Regions from separate parts of the Homo sapiens genome. Here region 2 is linked to region 1. Evidence: promoter capture Hi-C in 16 types of primary human blood cells and fetal thymus (Javierre and others, 2016). All regions are on one chromosome and are shown on one strand. Each heading gives the region's core, a stretch centred on a gene start or on the middle of the fragment in contact. The rest is flanking DNA. Distances are from core to core; before and after follow the strand shown. Region 1 holds the start of NXNL2 (nucleoredoxin like 2). Region 2 has its middle 81 kb from the start of SPIN1.

Evidence for each region. The method cuts DNA at HindIII sites, captures the fragments that hold promoters and counts their contacts. A CHiCAGO score of 5 or more calls a contact.
Region 2: a fragment that was not itself captured here is called in contact with the fragment with the promoter of NXNL2 in region 1 in 1 of 17 cell types (megakaryocytes); the score reaches 5.0 in megakaryocytes.

Annotation. Positions count from the first base shown.
Region 1 is chr9:88,533,118-88,536,756 of GRCh38, forward strand. It overlaps NXNL2 (nucleoredoxin like 2), which reads left to right and starts at 2,061. Exons shown (of 2, transcript NM_001161625.2): 1 at 2,061-2,619. The coding sequence starts at 2,318. LOC105376134 (a long non-coding RNA gene) reads right to left here and starts at 1,423. Exons shown (of 2, transcript XR_007061653.1): 1 at 897-1,423. RefSeq lists enhancers at 1,847-2,681, 2,682-3,515. The HindIII fragment of the contact is 6,313 bases long and covers 1-3,639 here.
Region 2 is chr9:88,305,541-88,309,436 of GRCh38, forward strand. No RefSeq gene overlaps it. Among named protein-coding and RNA genes, the nearest start is that of SPIN1, 81 kb to the right of the region's middle. The HindIII fragment of the contact is 3,110 bases long and covers 669-3,778 here.

The DNA.
Region 1 (3,639 bases), core at 811-3,310:
GACCTTCTCTCTGTCCTCCCCAGTTCCATAGCTGGCTCTATGAAATTAACTGCCAACGGGCAGATGAACGGGGGGAACGGGAATACACATTTATTAATCTTTAATATCACCTGCATGGGGGCATTGCAGGAAACTAGGTGAAAACCCCCCAAACCAGTGAGCTTTGAGAGCTTCTAAAATTGGGGAACTGGAAGCTGGTGTAGGCCACTTAGGGGAGAGTAACTGATTTTTAGGAAAGATGCATAAGTCTTTATGAGTTTGTGACAAAGTTTGTCTAGGTGTGGTGTGGACTTCTGCTGTGATAAGAGTCCATCCTCCCGGGAGGGAATTTACGACAATCAGTTTCTTTTGGAGGTTCCGTCTTTAGACAGGTAAGGGGAGAACGTCTCTCTGCATTTGCTATTTTTCAAGTGCCTCTCGCTCAAAATAATCAATATACCAAAGCGGCATATTTTAGGATGGCATATTTTGGTTTCATTCACTGTCTTTAAGTTTTTGATATTTTGTTCATTATAAACTTTTTTTGCATTCATTTTGACTTTTTAAGATATTGTATTAAAACATTATTTACCTTGACTACTGAGTTTTTTTGTCGCGCCCTTAAATTTTGCCCCTATGCGAGTGCCTCGCTCGCTTGCCTCCTTCTAGCCCGGGTCTGGCAGGGAGTTGAAATTATTTTTCTCACTGCTGAATTCCCAGGGCCTACAACAGTGCTCGCCAAAAAATTAATACTCTTGGTTCTTCAAATAAAACATTCTGTAAGGACTGCTCCCAATTTCTTCCTGAACTTCACGAACCCTCCCAGCCAGGCCACAGGATGTCAGGGGCAAACACCCTGAACCAACGGAGCTCAGGTTCCCTACCACCCCGCCCAAGCCCGCTCCAAGCCCAATTACCCTTCCCCTTCCTCGTCGTCCCATCCTCCCTGATGCCTCTTCCAGGGTGCTGGGCCGCGCGGCAAGAGCTCCAAGGCAAGATTCAAATGCCCTGGGGAGACGGCTGCGGGACACCTGCGGCGGGGCCCGGCAGGGAGCGCGAGACTGGAAGAGAGGCCAGGAGGGAAGGAGAGCGACGCGGGGTTTTGGGGGAGGGGCTGCGTGGGGCGCTGAAGGGGAGCGCGAGGAGTGGGAGGAAGTGAAGGAGGAGGAAGAGCACGGTGTGGGGGAAGCGCAGGAGGCAATAGGTGGGGCGGGACGGAGGGCAGGGCGCTGCGTCGGGAGAAAGTGTAGAAGCGCTGGGGAGAGTGCCCACGACGGGAGAGCCCAGGGGCGCGAGGGCGCGGGAGTGTGGGCGGGGCGCAGTGGGGATGGGGGCGGGGGCGCGGGATGTGGTAGGGGGCGTAGTGGGGAGAGAGTGCAGGAGTGTGGGCAGGGCGCAGTGTGGGGAGGGTGCGGGAGTGTGAGCGGGGCGCAGTGGAGGGAGTGCAGGATGTGGGCTGGACAACCAGTGGGAGAGGGCGCGGGAGGTGGGCGGGGCGCAGTCGGGATGGGGGCGGGGGCGCGGGATGTCGGCGGGCCGCAGTGAGGGGGAGGGCGCGGGAGTGTGGGCGGGGCGCAGTGGGGGAGGGAGCGGGAGTGTGCGCGGGGCGCAGTGAGGGGAAACTGTGGAATGTGGGCGAGGCGCAGTTGGAGAAGAGTGCGGGGATGTGGGCGGGGCGCAGTGAGGGGAAACTGTGGAATGTGGGCGAGGCGCAGTTGGAGGAGAGTGCGGGGATGTGGGCGGGGTGCGGTGGGGGAGGGTGCGGAGATGTGGGCGGGGCGCAGTGGGTGGAGAGTGTAGGGATGTGGGCCCAGCGCAGTGGGGGACAGTGTGGGGATGCGGGCGAGGCGCAGTGGGGGCGGGGGCGGGGATGTGGGCGGGGCGCAGTGGGTGGAGAGTGCGGGATGTGGGCGGGGCGCAGTGGGTGGAGAGTGCGGAATGTGGGCGGGGCGCAGTTGGGGAGCTTGCGGGGAATGTGGGCGGGGCGCAGTGGTGGGAGGGCGCAGGAGTGTGGGCGGGGCGCAGTTGGGGGAGGGTGCAGAGACCTGAGGGCTTGAGGTTGCCTGGCTGGCCCCGCTCCCAGAGGCGGGTGCCGCGCTGTCGCCCAGGTATCTGGGGTCTCTGGTGTCTGAGTGTCTCATTGTCGGCGCGAACACAATTGCTCCAGCCACAGGCGAGGCCTGGCCAAGGTGTGGGCGCATCTGGGGCAGGTCTTGAGAGGTCCAGCGCCCGGTGGTGCGGACAGAGGCGGGGCACCGCGGCGCTCGCCGCCGCCTCCCCGCAGGTGATCATCCTCCTGCAGGTGTCCTCGGGTCTCAGGTGGCTGCGTGTCTGCGCCATGGTTGACATTCTGGGCGAGCGGCACCTGGTGACCTGTAAGGGCGCGACGGTGGAGGCCGAGGCGGCGCTGCAGAACAAGGTGGTGGCACTGTACTTCGCGGCGGCCCGGTGCGCGCCGAGCCGCGACTTCACGCCGCTGCTCTGCGACTTCTATACGGCGCTGGTGGCCGAGGCGCGGCGGCCCGCGCCCTTCGAAGTGGTCTTCGTGTCAGCCGACGGCAGCTCCCAGGAGATGCTGGACTTCATGCGCGAGCTGCATGGCGCCTGGCTGGCGCTGCCCTTCCACGACCCCTACCGGCAGTGAGTGGGGGTCCTGGGGGGGCGGGGGCCGCCCGGCACGTCTCCCCCATGTTCCCCCAGGCCTCCCCCTCTGCACTGGGGAGCTCTTTATGACGCCCCCCCCCAACACCTCCCCGTCTCTCGGTTCACGTCCGGACTCCGGTAAATCACACTCAGTCTCAGTTTCAACCTCTCTTGGAGACCAGGGAGGGTGCAGACCAGATTCGAAAACCCAGGGCATCGGCACCCCAAGGGGGCTCGTGGAGCATGGACGCGGGCGCGTTTCTGCCTGGGGTCTGGAGCTCCGGGAATCTGCATTGCGAAGGAGCTCCCAGTGGTGGTGATGCTGTGAGTTCGCGGGCTCGGCTCCGGGAACCGCCGGCCCAATCAGCCCTGGACTCCCGGCGCCGCTGCGTCATCCTCCCAGTTAGTGGGCAGGAAGCACAGGGACATGACCCGGTGTCTGGATGCGGGGATGAGGGATGACCCGCGAGGACATCAGCTCTGTGACAGGCACCCACAGTGCAGGCCGTGGTTGGTTTGCTGGGAGGGAGGGACGGGGGCTTCAAGGCTGGCAGGAACCCAGGTGCTGGCCACCTTTGCGGTTTCATTTTTACCGACACTGATGGAATTTCATCACTAGAGAAGCATAAAACTCATTACTATAAACTTTATTACTCTAACTGTTGCAAAGGAGGGGGTAGGGATTGGCAGAGAGGGGATTACAGGGATTGATTGTTCTGCTTTTGGGGTGGGTCTCCTGTGGTCTCCTATGGTGTAAGAGTCCAGACTTAGGTTTAAAGCAGGCCTCGTCAAGTATGTTGTCCTGGCCACCCCCTTCTAGGTACCAATGTGAATTTCTGGGTTTTGCTTTACAGCCTCACATTTCTGGAGATTATCATTAAGTTGTGGCATTACCCCCTAAACTGATTATCATGAGATGACATTCCTTCTGGAAAATGAAAACTGGAAGCTAACTTTGGAAAGTTTTGTAGATGAGTAATTAATGGGAAGAAATCTAATTATTCCCCCAAACATGAT
Region 2 (3,896 bases), core at 974-3,473, 230 kb before region 1:
AAGCTCTCTGAACCCCACTGTTTAGGGGGTTTTATGGAGGCTTCCTTATGTAGGTGAGAGTGATTAAATCATTGGTGATTAGTAAGCTCAATCTCCAGCCCCTCTCCTTTTCACAGAGTCAAAGACCACATATTTTTCTAACCATAGGATTGTGAAAGGAAAATATCTTTTTTTTTTTTTCTTTTTGGAGACAGAGTTTTGCTCTGTCTCCCAGGCTGGAGTGCAGTGGTATGATCTCGGCTCACTGCAACCTCTGCCTCCTAGGTTCAAGCAATTCTCCTGCTTCAGTCTCCTGAGTAGCTGGGACTACAGGTGTGCACCACCACACTTGGCTAATTTTTGTATTTTTAGTAGAGATGGGGTTTCCACACCATATTGGCCAGGCTGGTCTCCAACTCCTGACCTCAAGTGACCCACCCACCTCGGCCTCCCAAGGTGTTGGGATTATAGGCGTGAGCCACTGCACCCAGCCAGGAAAATATCTTGGGCCCCCAAAATCACTAAGCTAAAGGGAAAATTCAAGCTTTTGTTTTTGTTTTTCGGCCTCATCTTAAATTTTTACATTACCTTAGAGAGAGGGGCATCCTTGTAATGCTGTCTTCCTCTCTCAGGACTGAACATGTCTCTTTATCTACTCAAGTTCCCTGTCTGTTCCTTTGTTCATTTGAAGCTTTTCTCTGGGTACTCCTGTACATTTCCAGGTGTGTATTCTGACATATTTCTTCTCCTTCTTGCTATGCTAAATGTGACTCTTTCTTCCATCAGTGTTTGAGGACCATTGCTTCAGGTGTGAAGCATTTTGGCAATCTATTACTAGAGAGCCCCTCTCAGTGAAGAGTCTGCCTGCTGCTCACCCCAGAATCCTGCGTGCGTGCTCAGCCTCCTGTGACCCCCTCTTCTTGCCGCCTAGTCCCCGTGTGGTGGAAGGGTGGTGATGCCCAGGACACAGGGGCTGCTCCAGGCTCATCTGGACCCAACCCCTCCAACCCCTTTCATCACCTTTCAGAATGAAAAGGCAAATCCATATTTGGGGGCTACAAAGTCTTATTTCTGAGGGGAATATCTTAAAAGCCTTTTTTTCCTGCCTTGAGGAACTTTTCCAGATATAGCCAAATATAACCAATCTCTGACAACGTTTAGATGTGATGTGTAATTAATAGGTGCCACTGAAATAAACTGCAAAACTTGGTTGTGAAATCCTTGAAACCGCCTTAATGTCTGTATTATTGTCATAAGCTATTTGACTCTAAATGTATATGTAATAAAGATTGAATCTGGGCCGGGGGTGGTGGCTCAGACCTGTAATCCCAGCACTTTGGGAGGCCAAGGCGGGCGGATCACCTGAGGTCAGGAGTTCAAGACCAGTCTGGCCAACATGATGAAACCCTGTCTCTACTAAAAATACGAAAAATTATCCAGGCATGGTGGCGGGCACCTGTAATCCCAGCTACTCAGGAGGCTGAGGCAGGAGAATCGCTTGAACCCGAGAGGCAGAGGTTGCAGTGAGCCGAGATCATGCCACTGCACTCCAGCCTGGGCAACAAGAGTGAAACTCCATCTCAAAAAAAAAAAAAAAAAAAAAAAAGATTGAATCTGTAAATGCATAGGTGCACTAACTTTACTGTGAATTGGAATGCTTTTTTACATGGCCATCTGATCTTGTTGGGGCATTCGCTTCTACTTGTATCTCTGGCAACTTTTTCTTTCTCTTTTTGTAACCAGTGCCCTTCCTGGGAACCAGGCAAGTCTCCAGGCCCTGGCTCCTGTCTGTGTTGACACTTTCCCTTCCTGATGCATTATAGCAGGCTGTGTTTTCCAAAGATAGCTACAGAAATATCTCCCATCGCGTGTGTACTCCTACAACGTGACCTGGCCGCTTCTTCCCCGAGAGGTGAGGTCTAGGTCTCCTCCCCTTGAATTGTCCCTTTTTGCCCAGGGTATTCTCAGTACTAGCAAGGAAAGTCCCCAAAACTAGCAAAGGGCTGGGCACGGTGGCTCACGCCTGTAATCCCAGCACTTTGGGAGGCCAAGGCGGGTGAATCACTTGAGGTCAGGAGTTTGAGACCAGCCTGACCAATATAGTGAAACCCTGTCTCTACTAGAAATACAAAAAATCGGCCGGGCATGGTGGCTCACGCCTGTAATCCTAGCACTTTGGGAGGCCAAGGCAGGCAGATCACGAGGTCAGGAGATCGAGACCATCCTGGCTAACATGGTGAAACCCTGTCTCTACTAAAAACACAAAAAATTAGCCAGGCGTGGTGGCGGGCACCTGTGGTCCCAGCTACTCAGGAGAATGGCACGAACCTGGGAGGCGGAGTTTGCAGTGAGTGGAGATCGTGCCATTGCACTCCAGCCTGGGCGACAGAGCGAGACTCCGTCTCAAAAAAACAAACACAAAAAAAAGCAATACAAAAAATTAGCCAGGTGTGGTAGCACATGCCTGTAATACCAGCTACTTGGGAGGCTGAGACAGGAGAATCACTTGAACCTGGGAGGCAGAGGTTGCAGTGACCTGAGATGGCACCATTGCACTCCAGCCTGGGCAACAAGAGCAAAACTCAGTCTAAACAACAACAAACAAAACAAAACAAAAAAACAGCAAAGACTCCCTGGCAAACTGGGATAGCTGGGCACCCAGCTACGGATCTGGGTGGGTTTAGGCTAGCTCCAACCAAAACAGCAGGCTGAGACAGACATTGTGAGTTCCAAAGCTGGGTCATAAAAGCCTGGATGAGGCTTCCTCCAGGTTCTCCTATGTATTAGTCACATTTTTTGTCTTCTGTATCTTATAATTATTTTTTTAGAGATGAGGTCTTGCTATGTTGTCCAGGTAGGTCTGGAACTCCTGGCCTCAAGCAATCCTTCCATCTAGGATTCAAGGCACGTGCCACCATGCCCAGGTCTTTTATAATGTTTTGACATCTTAAAAACCTGGCTGGCCAGGGAGAGACTGCCCCTCCAGGGGTTAAGCCATTCTTAGAGCTAGCCAAGGGCTTTGTGTTGAGACCCTGTCTTTCCTATGCAAACCAATCAATTCCAAGTCTATACCCCAGCCACCCCGTTTATCTTACTCTCACACACCAAGCCAATATTTTCCCCTGTCCTGAATCATCCCAGAGCTAGGTACCAGGCAACTAGAGACCACCCCTAAAGCCCAAAGCCTACTGGAATCATTTGAACTAGCCCATCCTAAACTGTTTCCCCTCCTCTGCTCTGCCATTCTCATGGAAGCCCCGGTAAAAGCTCTGGCCTCAGCTTCCCCCTCACTCCTGCTCCCGCCTCCTGACCAAAACCTGGCACTCGGTTTTGGGTGGTCTGCCATGAGCAACAGAAAGCAGAACAACATGCAGCTTGGAGGATATGGAAAAGCCAATTCTCCTTACATCATCCCAGGATTTTCAGATGGTGCTTTTTTAGGAACTAGAGGTTCTTCCAGTACTCAGGACCACACAGGATGAAAAGCTGAGGGAAAATGCCTGTCCCCACCACCTTCCAACCAGAATAGCCGTGGTTTTCATCTGTTTTGGTTACTTCTGAGAAGAAAAATTTCCCATGAAGAAAGAGGTTCTCTGGTTTCTGAGCATTCTTAGGCTTGAACAATGCTGGAACACTCCGCAATTTAAAAAAACTAGATAAGGAAACTGAGGTCCATGAGGGGAGGCCCCAGGCCTGGAGGCAAGCTCCAAATAACATAGAAGCCGTTCTGGTCCACTTGCAATTTTGATTATTTCATGCCCAGTGACCCATTTTATCCCACAAATCAAGAGAAGAAACAAGCTTTGTTCCTGCCTTCTAAATTTAGCCCGTTAGGCTGGCAACTAAACTGTGTTAGGCGGTCTCCAAGCAATACACCTGTGTTTCTCATTACGTCTTTCATTTCCATGGTTTTGATC